2 separate regions of the Homo sapiens genome follow, and region 1 is linked to region 2. Evidence: promoter capture Hi-C in 16 types of primary human blood cells and fetal thymus (Javierre and others, 2016). All regions are on one chromosome and are shown on one strand. Each heading gives the region's core, a stretch centred on a gene start or on the middle of the fragment in contact. The rest is flanking DNA. Distances are from core to core; before and after follow the strand shown. Region 1 overlaps MYCBP2 (MYC binding protein 2). Region 2 holds the start of FBXL3 (F-box and leucine rich repeat protein 3).

Region 1 (5,549 bases), core at 683-3,182, 230 kb after region 2:
TAGAGAGTACAATGCTGGTTACTAGAGACTGGGAAGGGTAGTCAGGGAGAGTGGGTGGGAAATGGGATGGTTAGTTGGCACAAAAATATAATTAGATACAAGAGATCTACTATTTGATAGCACAACAGGGTGGCTACAGTTGGCGATAATTTTTTGTATACTTTAACAACTGAGGGAGTATAACTGGAGTGCTCATAACACAAAGAAAGGATACATGCTTGAGATGATGGAGACCCCATTTACCCTGTGATTATTATTACACATTGTAGGCCTGTATCAAAACAACTCATGTACCCCATACATATACCTACTATCTACCCATAAAATTTTTAAAAAAAATTTAAATAGGAACAAAAAGAAAAAGAAGAGCCACTCATTTTGAAAAGAACAAGACTTTTCACTATGTTGTTCTGAAAAACTAATGAAAAGACAACACAAATTTTAATATCTAAGAATTAAAGACCTACCTTTCCCACCTTGGTTCATGGCACCAGTATCTCGTCCACACTGTCCTTTATTATTTACACCAAATGTCCACACCTCTCCATTCTTCATTAAAACACAAGTGTGAGCTTTGCCCATAGCTACCTGAGTTACAAAATGGCCCTTCAAATCAGTTACCAAACCTATAGGAAAGAAACAAATTTAGTAAAAACAACAAAAAGGCCCTTCTGAGCCTAGTAAAAGAACTACCTCAATGCAGAACCGTTTATTTCTGGGGCAAAATAACTCAACAAAATGAGAAATAAGTAGCCAAAAGACTGGCAGAGTATCACTGAATTAACTTTGTAACTTTGTAACGTAGCTTCAGTGAATCCTAAAACATTATCATCCAGACTTGGGACATATCTTTACTGTAGCTTTCTCTCAAGCTTACTTCTCCTGAATGCTTCCTCCAAATGGTAATACCTCTCCACAGTACTTTCAAACTTTTCTGGTCTAAGCACAAAGGAGTCCATAAATAATTTATTTTACCTGCTTTGACCTGCCTCAGCAAAACAAAGTAAAATACTTGCCATAGTATATTGACATGAAATTGTTTATGTAGAAACCAGTGAGACTTTTCAAAACAGTATTTTTTAATCCTTTTCAACCTACAATGCTTTCTTCCACAATCCAATACACAGTTATTTTCTAAACTTCACTTATTCATGTATTACTTTCATTATATTTGTCATATCCAAGTGCCACTCATATTATCTATTTAATATGTTTTGTATCAACTCTAAATTGATTGAAGCATCTTTAACATTAACAATCAAAGATTATTATTTTTCCAATATACATTAAAATAAAAACATGTTATCAAGTATTTGTTTTATTTAAATTACAAATAGTATCAATCTCATATTATGCTTTGGGAAAACTGTTCTACATTATTAGCTCAGATATCACTACCTTAAGGTGGCCTTCACTTTCACCTTTCACTAGTTTAGGTCTTTTTGTTAATTATACCTCAAAAATTTCCACTTTTAATATTTAGCACATTTGAAAAAGGTAAGGGTGTGTGTATATATATAAAACAGTAGTTATTTATTATTATTATTAACAGTACTAGCTGACATGCTTTGAGACCTTACATGATGTGCTAAGCATTTCTTAAGTTCTACCTCCTATAATCTTCATAACAACTATATGAAGCAGGTGCTATCATTATCTATTTTTTGCAGGTAGAAAAAAACAAAAAGAAAACTCTTAAATGTTTAGTAAACTGTTACCCAGTTAAAGATTAAGTAAACTGTTACCCAATTAAAAGCGTTGGTGCCAAGGGCCATGCGCGGTGGCTCACGCCTGTATTCCCAGCACTTGAGGAGGCTGAGGCGAGTGTATCACTTGAGGTCAGGAGTTCGAGACCAGCCTGGCCAACACAGTGAAACCTCGTCTCTACTAAAAATACAAAAAATACAAAAAATTAGCTGGGTGTTGTGGCACGTGCCTATAATCTCAGCTACTTGGGAGGCTGAGGTGGGACAATCGCTGGAACCTAGGAGGCAGAGGTTGCAGTAAGCTGAGATTGTGCCACTGCACTCCAGCCTGGGAGACAGAGTGAGACTCCCTCTCAAAAAAAAAAAGTGTTGGTGCTAGGATCTCAGTCTATGTCCATAACCATTCAATACCACTTCCCCAATATTTAAGTTCTGTAATACCCAACTGTCTCTCGGATCCTCAAAAAGGCAGTATCCAGGTCTGTCAGGTCCATCAATCACTAATGTATCACCCATGCTCAATAAATATATGTTGAAGAAATATACAAGTTTCCATCAGCTCTACCCAGTGGATGTTAGCAAGCAACAATTATATTGAATATTATTTTTAAACTGTACAAGAACCCACTCCCAAATTTTGATTTACTCTGATAGCTGCAGCCAATTGAGAATCTAAATATTACAACATTAAGCCAGTTCACTTATCATCTGGGTACACCTCCACTTAATAATTAATTGCTATAAATGTTCTACAGGTGTAATTTCCCCAGCATGGGACAATTACATATATTTCTAATCATAAACTTCATTAATTCTAGTTTCCTTTTTTACAAAGAAACTCAAAGGCTTTACATATTTATCACACATAAAATCCTTCCAAGTGGGATGCTTCACTCATTATATTCATTTCTAGCTGCTAGAAAGAAAATCTAGTAACCAAATATGACAAGTTTTTGAGATTAGCATTTATAAATATAAAACCATTTAGCTAGTTCTACCCCTCATATCCACTTCTCAAACTTTTGGTTTATCAGTCACCCAGGCACTAGAAAATAATTCTTGAGACCCTACAATGTGCCAGACACTGTGCTGGGCACTGGGGATAGAATAGTAAATAAGACAGATCATCCCAGCCAAACACCCTAATGGGGGAGATAAAATACTTCAACAATTATAAACTAGCTATGTCATGAAAATCACTTCTTCAGGATACTACCACTGTCCCAGGGACATGTCCCATAAGCACCTGAGTCTAGGGAAAACATCCACAGAAGTCACAGCTACAGCGAAGCTTCCCTTGCCAAGCTCTATGATTAGCTTTGCATGAAACTAGGGACAGTGCTCCTAGTGACAAGATATGACAGAAAATTTCTCTTTCGAAATATTTCACATTTGGAAGGAAATGTAAAAAATGTAGAGAAAGCATGCCACCAACATAAATTTTCTAGATATGTCTTTGTCATACATAACTAGTATTGAAACTTCTTTGCATAAAAGTAAAACTTTTTATTAACTTACTTGAACTATCAGAGTAAATGGCATCTTTTCCAAACATGTAGAGTTCTCCATCTTTAGAAATAACAGAACTACTTCCATTATTGCAGGCTGTATATACCACAATCTTTCCTTCCATCTTAATTATCTTTTTAGGTTTATAAGGTTTGGATTGCCGTCTGCTCTTAGCTTTAAAAAAGAAATTAGATTAAATCAAGACCTCTATGTACAAATAATAATAATAATGGTTTGTATATAAAGCTAAAAAAAAAACCCATATTATTTGCATTTATGACACTATTTGTTTATTTTCACAAAGGCCTGGGCTTCCCAACATGTCATTTAAAATCAGTGAACCTGCTAGCCTCATCTGGTCAATTAATATTTACGCTATCATTGCTAGATCCTCATTCCCTGAAGTACATTCAAATTCTCAGTGAGTAATATTAGTTTTCTACCAAACTCCTGGAGGGCCCAATCTCTAAATTAGCTATTGCATTATTAATACCATTCTACTAACACATATCTAAAATCTCCTTTTTTTCCCAAGTTGTAATTCACATGTATTCTTGTTAGATCCTGGAAAGTAAAATAAGTTCCTCATTCATTCAATATGTATTTATTAAGCAGTTACATCAAGTCAATGATATATATATAAAGTTGGTGTGGTGTTATTGAAATTCATAAACTTTATCTTAATAAAGTTTTATTTTTACTAAAATAAAGCATTTATTTTTATTAAATGCATAGTTGATCACTCAACTTACTTGATTCTCCATCTTCTCCTTTACTAGCAGATCCTGTAAAGAATATGCTCCCATCTTCTGCAACTAAAAGGGCGTGAGAGCCATCGTGTCCAACTGAGAAGTGTACTATCTTTGGAGATTTTGTAATTGGTAGCTCAACCCATTTTCCTGCTGAAGGACCACCTTGTTTGATTCCAAGACTCTGGTATTTGCCAGTGTAATATATCTTATGTATTAAAAAAAAAAAGGAATTATGGTACTTTTTGGAATAGTGCATCAGGTTTCACATGAGGAAAAAAAAGGACATCAATATTTTATTGAAAAATAAAATTCACATAAAAACAAACTCTTTTTTACACTATTCAGCTTCTGGGAGTTGAGCAAGAAATACACATATTTTGCCAAGAAGACACAGTTCATAATAGCTTTTTCATATCTTTTATCCATTAAGTTTCCTGTCTTCTATAGGCACAATTCACAGCACCCTAAAATAATTACAATAGTAACATCAAAGATAACAGATCACCATAACAGATATAATAATAATAAAGAAGTCTGAAATATTTCGAGAATTACCAAAGTGTGACACAGAGACACAAAGTGAGCACAGGCGGTTAGAAAAATGATGCCAACAGACTTGCTCAACTCAGGGTTGTCACAAACCTTCAATTTGTAAAAAGAGCAATTATTTGTGAAGTGTAACAAAACTAAGCACAATAAAATGAGGCATGCCTGTACTGTTCCCTACATGAATAAAATTTTATCTTATAAAAAATAATTTTAAATCAAAATTTAAAAGATGATTCTTCTTAAACATGCAAACTATATAAACTAATCAACAGATTGTATTTTAATCTCTTAAATCAGAGAATGCTCATTTTTAATCCAAAGAGAATAATTTACCTTTCCATTTGCTGTTTTCATTAGCGCAAACTCTCGTCCTGCACCAAGAATTGCTGACTCCTCATCAAATCCTGTACCTGAAATACGAGACTAATAAATACTATTGCATTTCTAATATGAAGAATTCTAAATACAACATGCACTATTTTAAGTGATTGCAATGTCAATTCAAAATCACTAAAAAACAAGGATGACAAAATGTCATGTGCTCAAATTTTTAAAAATATTAACCATAGGTATAGTACTCCAAGGAAAGATAAAGTTATCATAATCTGTTTCTCTTGTTCCAAACCAGTACCAAATTAATTTTTTAAATATACGACAAAAAAATTTAAAAATTCAATGTCAGCAATATTCCTTGAATTAATGTATAAATGCTCAAAGTTTTATTGAGCGTTTATTAGGTACCAGGCATTATACAATTCACAAAATTTATCTCATTTGATTCTCACAACTATACCACTTGGTTTACAAATAAGCATATATAAAGGTTGGAGAGGTTAGTCCAGACACAGAGTCATTCAAGCTTGGAACAATGCCATGCAGATATTTGAATTAAAGTATTTCAGATTCTCTGCCTATGTCTTTTTCTACAGAAAGACATCTTATATAGCTACTCCATCAATTCAAATATATATATATGTAAATATGCATATACACACACAGATCCTTATGCATATTTTCAAATTGTAAAACTATG
Region 2 (5,829 bases), core at 1,922-4,421:
AACTATGTGAATAAAATATATTACGTATACCCTACTGATCAGGGAGAGAACAAGAGAGAAAATAGAATGACAGAGGTGACAGCAAGAAGGTAGTCTGATGGAAGACTGGAAATTATGTGTGACTTGAGATTAGTTTTTTTTTAATAAGTTTAGAGAAAAGTGTATAGTCTACACTGTAATCTTTAATATTAAGTCTCTTCTAATAATAATCCCTCACTAGAGGCTGAGATAACACTGTTATTATGACCCATTTTTCTGCTTTAACTTACCCTGAAGGCTTACTTTAATTTTAGTATATAAAATTTGGGTCAAAGAACAAAGTGTTTGCTATCCAGAGCTTATAATTTCTCTTCTGACCACCTAAAACTACTCACAATTTTGAGATACAGAGATTCAAAAAAGAATGACAGTCTTTGCAATTTCTACACCTTATTATAGAATACTGATTGCCTGTTTCTGGAGAACAATCTTCTAAAACCAGAACTAGACAACTTAAAGACGGAATGATTCATTTTACTTTAGAGTATATGGATATATAAACAAAAATAAAATGGTAGCCTTATTCACATAATAGTCTTTGCTAATAAATACTTTGCTGGTCCTAAAAATAGAAACTTTCTTTTGTCTATTATAGTACTGTTTTAAATAAAATGTACTTAAATACCTTTCCAAGTTCAGGTTAAAGAAGTTGACAAAATTTTTTTTAACAGTATGCAACACTAAGGGACAGTATCTCTTGATCTAGATATAAAAACACTATATGATCACCAAAGCCTATTTTAAGAACTTACCAGTTTACAAATAGCTGAATTAAGTCTGTTAATTGTCATACGTAATATGTCTATGTTACAATTATAGTGCATTAAGCAATTGAAAAAAATGTAAGGCCAAATTCCAATAAAAATATCCTCTGCACTATCCTCATTTGTGCATGAAAATAACAGAAGTGAGTGGACACTTAAAATTTTAAATGTCAATTTTTCCAAGTTGATTTCATTTATGTATGAAAAAATTTACACTACTTTAATAGTATCTTATTAAATCTATTTACACATGAAACTCTGCTATACATAAAATTAAACATCTCAGAGCATCTTCCAGCCTGCAAATAATTTACATCAATGGACCCTATAATTCCTACTTTTGTCAAAGTGAAAACACCTCCTATATTTGAAAAGAAGTGTGGAGAACCAAGCTGTACTATAAAACGTCAATGAGACATTCTAGACTCTAGAAATCTAGAGCACCAAAACTAGGCCTCTTCAGGGCTCTGGCAGTTTAATTTCCTGCAAAGCTTCTAGGCCCCAAATAATGCAACTTAGGCCACCACAGCTTTTGGTGAGGGACTGATATGACTACAAACTGCTAAATAGCAAACTACTGAGGAAAGACCACAGACTAGCTGAGCAGCACAAGGAGTTAGTGAACTAACTCTATGTTCCATAAACTTTCCAGGTGGGCGCGGTGGGCCACGCCTGTAATCCCAGCACTTTGGGAGGACAAGGCGGGCGGATCGCTTGAGCTCAGTAGTTTGAGACCAGCCTGGGCAACACGATGAAACCTGTCTCTACAAAAATTAGCTGGGCATGGTGGCCCATGCCTGTAGTCTCAGCTACTAGGGAGCCTGGGGTGGGAGGATCGCTAGAGCCGAGATCGCGCCACTGCACTCCAGCCTGGGTGACAAAGTGAGTCCTTGTCTCAAAAAAAAAAAAAAAAAAAAAAAAACTTTGAAAGAAGCAACTTCATTAGGTGAAGACCGGAAGTGAACAGCTAGCCGTGTGCATCGTTGTATTAGGCACTTTTACACTGGGCATGCAATAATTTTAAATGCTCATTTGTAGTTAACTCTAAAAAGCCTATTTTGGCATCACAGTTCCTTTCTGTTCTGCTTTTACTAATATCAAACTAATATGCATTCTTTGGCTGAACTACAAGAATAAAACACTATAAAGAGGTTAACTCACAACTAAATGCTTAGAGAGCGCACAGTGGCGAAAATCTGTCTACAGGTCATATAGATAGATAGATAACTGATAGTTGATGGTATTTTTATAAATATTTCAGAGATAACAGAAACTAAGTTACTTTTTTTTCAAGTTAGAAAAGGAGGATTCTAATTAAAAAATCTGGGTCACTCAACTGGATATCATTAGCAACGACAAAATAAAAATGATCTCTCTCACCTCTCAGCTTGGAGATACAGACCATTTACTGGGCTGCTTCCTGACCCCTGTCTGCAACCCCACCTAAAGGACTGCCCACGCCAAAGGCAGACGCGAATCCGCTCAACACAAGTTGACCAAGTTTTTCGCCTGGCTAAGCGGCAGGGGCGTCCCCTCCTCCCTGCGCCACCTCCCCACCGACTGGCTTCCCCTGACATTTCTCATGCGCCCCACCCTGGGCAGTTTGCTTTGACATTTCAGTGCCTCATTGCTCAAGCTACCAGCACGGGCGTAGCCGACGCCGGGAGAGCCCACAGAGTGCGAGCTCCATGGTGCCTGTCACCAGCCCCCGCCAAGGGTCATAAAGCCTGGCAGGAGCCGCGGCGAACCCGGGAGCGGCGGCGTCGCGGGCAGGCTGCAGGCGGCCGCCGCACACGCACCACGCCTTGTTGACATGTTTGGAAGCAGGCACGGCGGGGAAACGCCCCCAAGCAAGCTCCAAGGTCTGGGTGCCGCGCCCCGCGCCCCGCCCGGCACTCCTGAGGAGCGGCCCGCGCGCGCCCCGGCCCCCGCGCCCCCCCCCACCCCACCCCACCCCGGCCCGCCCACAGACGGTCCGCGGTCCCTCCCCGGCTCCGCCGTCGCAGCGGGGCTCGGCCCTGCCCCTCCGCCGTTACCTGCTGCCGGGGGCGGCTTCCCCCACACACCACCCCGTGCTCCGGGGACGGCGGCGGCTGCAGGTCCCGCGGCTCTCACATGAGGCGCCCCTGGCCCCCCGCTTCGCGCTCCCGCAGCCGCGGCCCCCCGCGCTCCGCCCGCATCCGAGGCGCTGGTCCCGCGGAGGGCGCCAACGCGGCTCCACCTTTGCGGCTCTGGCTGCCCAGAAAGAAGCTTTCCTTCTCAGTCCCGCGCTGTCTGTGTTCAGGGATCCCCGGCGCCGCGAGAGACTACCTCAGCGAGCGGCTGCCACCGCGTAAGCTTCCTGCACCTGGGCCACAAACAGCGAGTCTAAAATGGCGCCCAGGGCTCGCGGCCGCGCGCTTCCCTGGCGCGTCCCCGCCCAAGGGGGCGGGAAGGGGGCGGGGGGGGGGCGGAGCCCGGCGGGAGTAGGGCCGCGCCCAAGCGGGAGCGCGCGCTGCGGCCGCCCCAGTCTCCTTGCTGTGGGACGAGCCTCTGCCTTCCTGCCAGAGATGTGACTCCCGCTTGAAGGGGATTTTTTTTGTTGTTTTGAGATGGAATGTGGGAGGGCTGAAGCTAGCTATATGTGGAAGAGACTATCTGTGGCTGAAACTGGAAGGTTTAGGGAGGTGGAGCAGAAAAAAGAAAGGAAGGAGTCTCGCCGGAGCCTGCTGGGGACCGCGGCCCGCGGGTGGCCGCCCCGGATGCCTGAAACCGAGGAGTTAAATACAGTCTCCGAAGACCCGCGCATCGATGTGCATAAGTGGTGCTTAAAAGATGCCAAGGAAATGTACCAGAATAGTGAGAGTATTAACGCTGGGATTGCACATGGTTTTTGTTTTTCAAATATTTGTATTTCCCAATATTTCTAAAGTGGCTTTTATCATTAGAGTTATTACATTTTAAAAACGACATTTGCTTTATGAAATAGAGTCCTGAAATTTGTAAATAGCTTTTGAAACGCAATGGGGAAAGTAAAGGATTACAAAGCTGCTGAAAAGAAAACCTCTGGTGAATCCTTTTGTAAATCAAGGCATCTTTGTAACTGCTACCTAGTTGACTTGTTTTAAAGTTTGGATTTTTTGATACTGCGTTTTCTTACAGTTAGAAACATTCTTAGGTGCAATATCATTAAGTTGAATCATGCGCCATTCCTCTCTACACCTCCAAAAAAAAAGAGAGAAAGTAGTTTTCCATTCAAAGATGTCTTAGAACACTCAGACCCATGTATAAGACACTGAAAAGCAGTGGTGCCCAGGGAGCTCTCCGTTCTTCCCGTTTTCTCAAGAAATTGAGCTAGGAAGCCATGTATAAAGTTACGTCGAAGTTCAGTGTGAGGCCAGGAGTGGTACAGGCTTATGTCTGTAATCCCAACATTTTGGGAAGCCAAGGCAGAAGGGTTGCTTGTGGTCAAGAATTGGAGACCAGCCTGCGCAATATGTCCAGACTCTTGTCTCTACAAAAAAATAGAAGAGTAATAATTTTAAAAAATCAGACGAGCTTGGTGTAATCCCGGCTACTACTCAGGAGGCTGAATCGAGAGGATGGCTGGAGCCCAGGAGTAGGAGGTTACAGTGACCTATGATGTCACCACTGCACTTCAGTCTGGGTGAGAGAGTGAGACTGTTTCTATAATAAAATGAATTCAATGTGGGGAAATGCCAGTGTTGTTTGTTCGGTGTTTTTTAAGGGCCTGTCAGCTGTCAGATCACTGAATCAAACTGTACAAAGCCTCTAGTAGCATAAGAGTGTGGATTTGCCTGAGCTGCAACATTTGTTTAGGTCCCTCAGTGACTGGATGATGAGGAACAATAGGAAGTTCTAAGAAGGACAATGATAATTATTAAGGAAAAACAAATAAGTCAAATACAGGCCCATTTATTTAAAGTTGGGTGAACAGTATAAATGATCAGCAAAATACATTAAACCAATTCAGTAAACATGATGAGCATAGGTTGCATTACGTTAATATTGTATCACATTACGGTTATATCACATTCCAATCATAGTTCTTTTTTTTCTTTTTTCGCCATTATGATCTATTCTCCTCCTAAACAAGACAAGGACCTTGGCACACTTGACCTATTGAATACCCCTTTTCTTCCCTGTTATTGGCAAATATTTTATTTCACCTCATTTTTTTTGAAAAAAAACGTTTATTTTTTAATCAGTCAGTACTTATTTACATTTATCAATTGTATCATCAAGATCAGTGGCATGGTAGGTGGGAGAAAGGATGAGTGTGGAGCACATTGATCCAACTGGGAAAAATAATTTATTACTGACCCTGTTTGGAATTGCCAATGCATGTGGTAATAAAAAGCAGATGAACAATTAGTCTCTTTATTATTGTTTTAAATTATCCACAGACAATGTACCCCCTCCACCACGTAGAATGGTGTAGACTATTCCCACACCACCCCAGCCTTGGTACACCAATGATCAGGATAGATTAGATTATGTTGCAGTAGTTCCTTAAATACCATCTTGTAATTCCTCGTTTTTGATGACCTTTACAGTTTTTAGGAGTACTGCTTTAGTATTTTTGTAGAACGTCCCTCAATTGGGGTTTGTCTTAGGTTTTTTTCTTATAATTACATGGGGACTATGGATGTTTTAGAAGGAAAACTACAGAGGTATAAAGTACCATTCTCATCACATCATATCAAGGGTACATCTATTAATACGACTTATCCTTGTTGATGTCAACATTAATCAGAGGTTGAGATCAAGTTATTCTACTTAAAGTTACCCTTTTCCCTCTCTTTTTGTACTGGAAGAAAGTCACTATGTGCAGCCAACACTGAAGAATGTGGATTTACCTGAACTGCAACATTTCCTTGAGAGGGGAATGTCTATTTAAATTATTAAAACTTTTCTGTCTTGGGAGGTGTATCTACATATCTCTTAATTGTATATGTTTACTTTTCTGTCTGTAATTTCTGTAGATCTGTCTTCAAGTCACTAATTTAGTCTATTTAGTCTTTGC

Evidence for each region. Contacts are between HindIII fragments. The CHiCAGO score rates a contact against its expected background, and 5 or more counts as called.
Region 1: a contact is called between a fragment that was not itself captured here and the fragment with the promoter of FBXL3 in region 2, in 1 of 17 cell types (total B cells). The highest score is 7.2, in total B cells.

The regions. Positions count from the first base shown.
Region 1 is chr13:77,257,204-77,262,752 of GRCh38, forward strand. MYCBP2 (MYC binding protein 2) reads right to left here. Exons shown (of 83, transcript NM_015057.5): 11 at 4,850-4,926; 12 at 3,968-4,172; 13 at 3,225-3,389; 14 at 468-626. Among named protein-coding and RNA genes, the nearest start is that of MYCBP2, 67 kb to the right of the region's middle. The HindIII fragment of the contact is 2,125 bases long and covers 871-2,995 here.
Region 2 is chr13:77,023,988-77,029,816 of GRCh38, forward strand. FBXL3 (F-box and leucine rich repeat protein 3) reads right to left here and starts at 3,172. Exons shown (of 5, transcript NM_012158.4): 1 at 2,840-3,172. RefSeq lists silencers at 2,713-2,772, 2,793-3,072, 3,243-3,292. The HindIII fragment of the contact is 14,791 bases long and covers 3,139-5,829 here.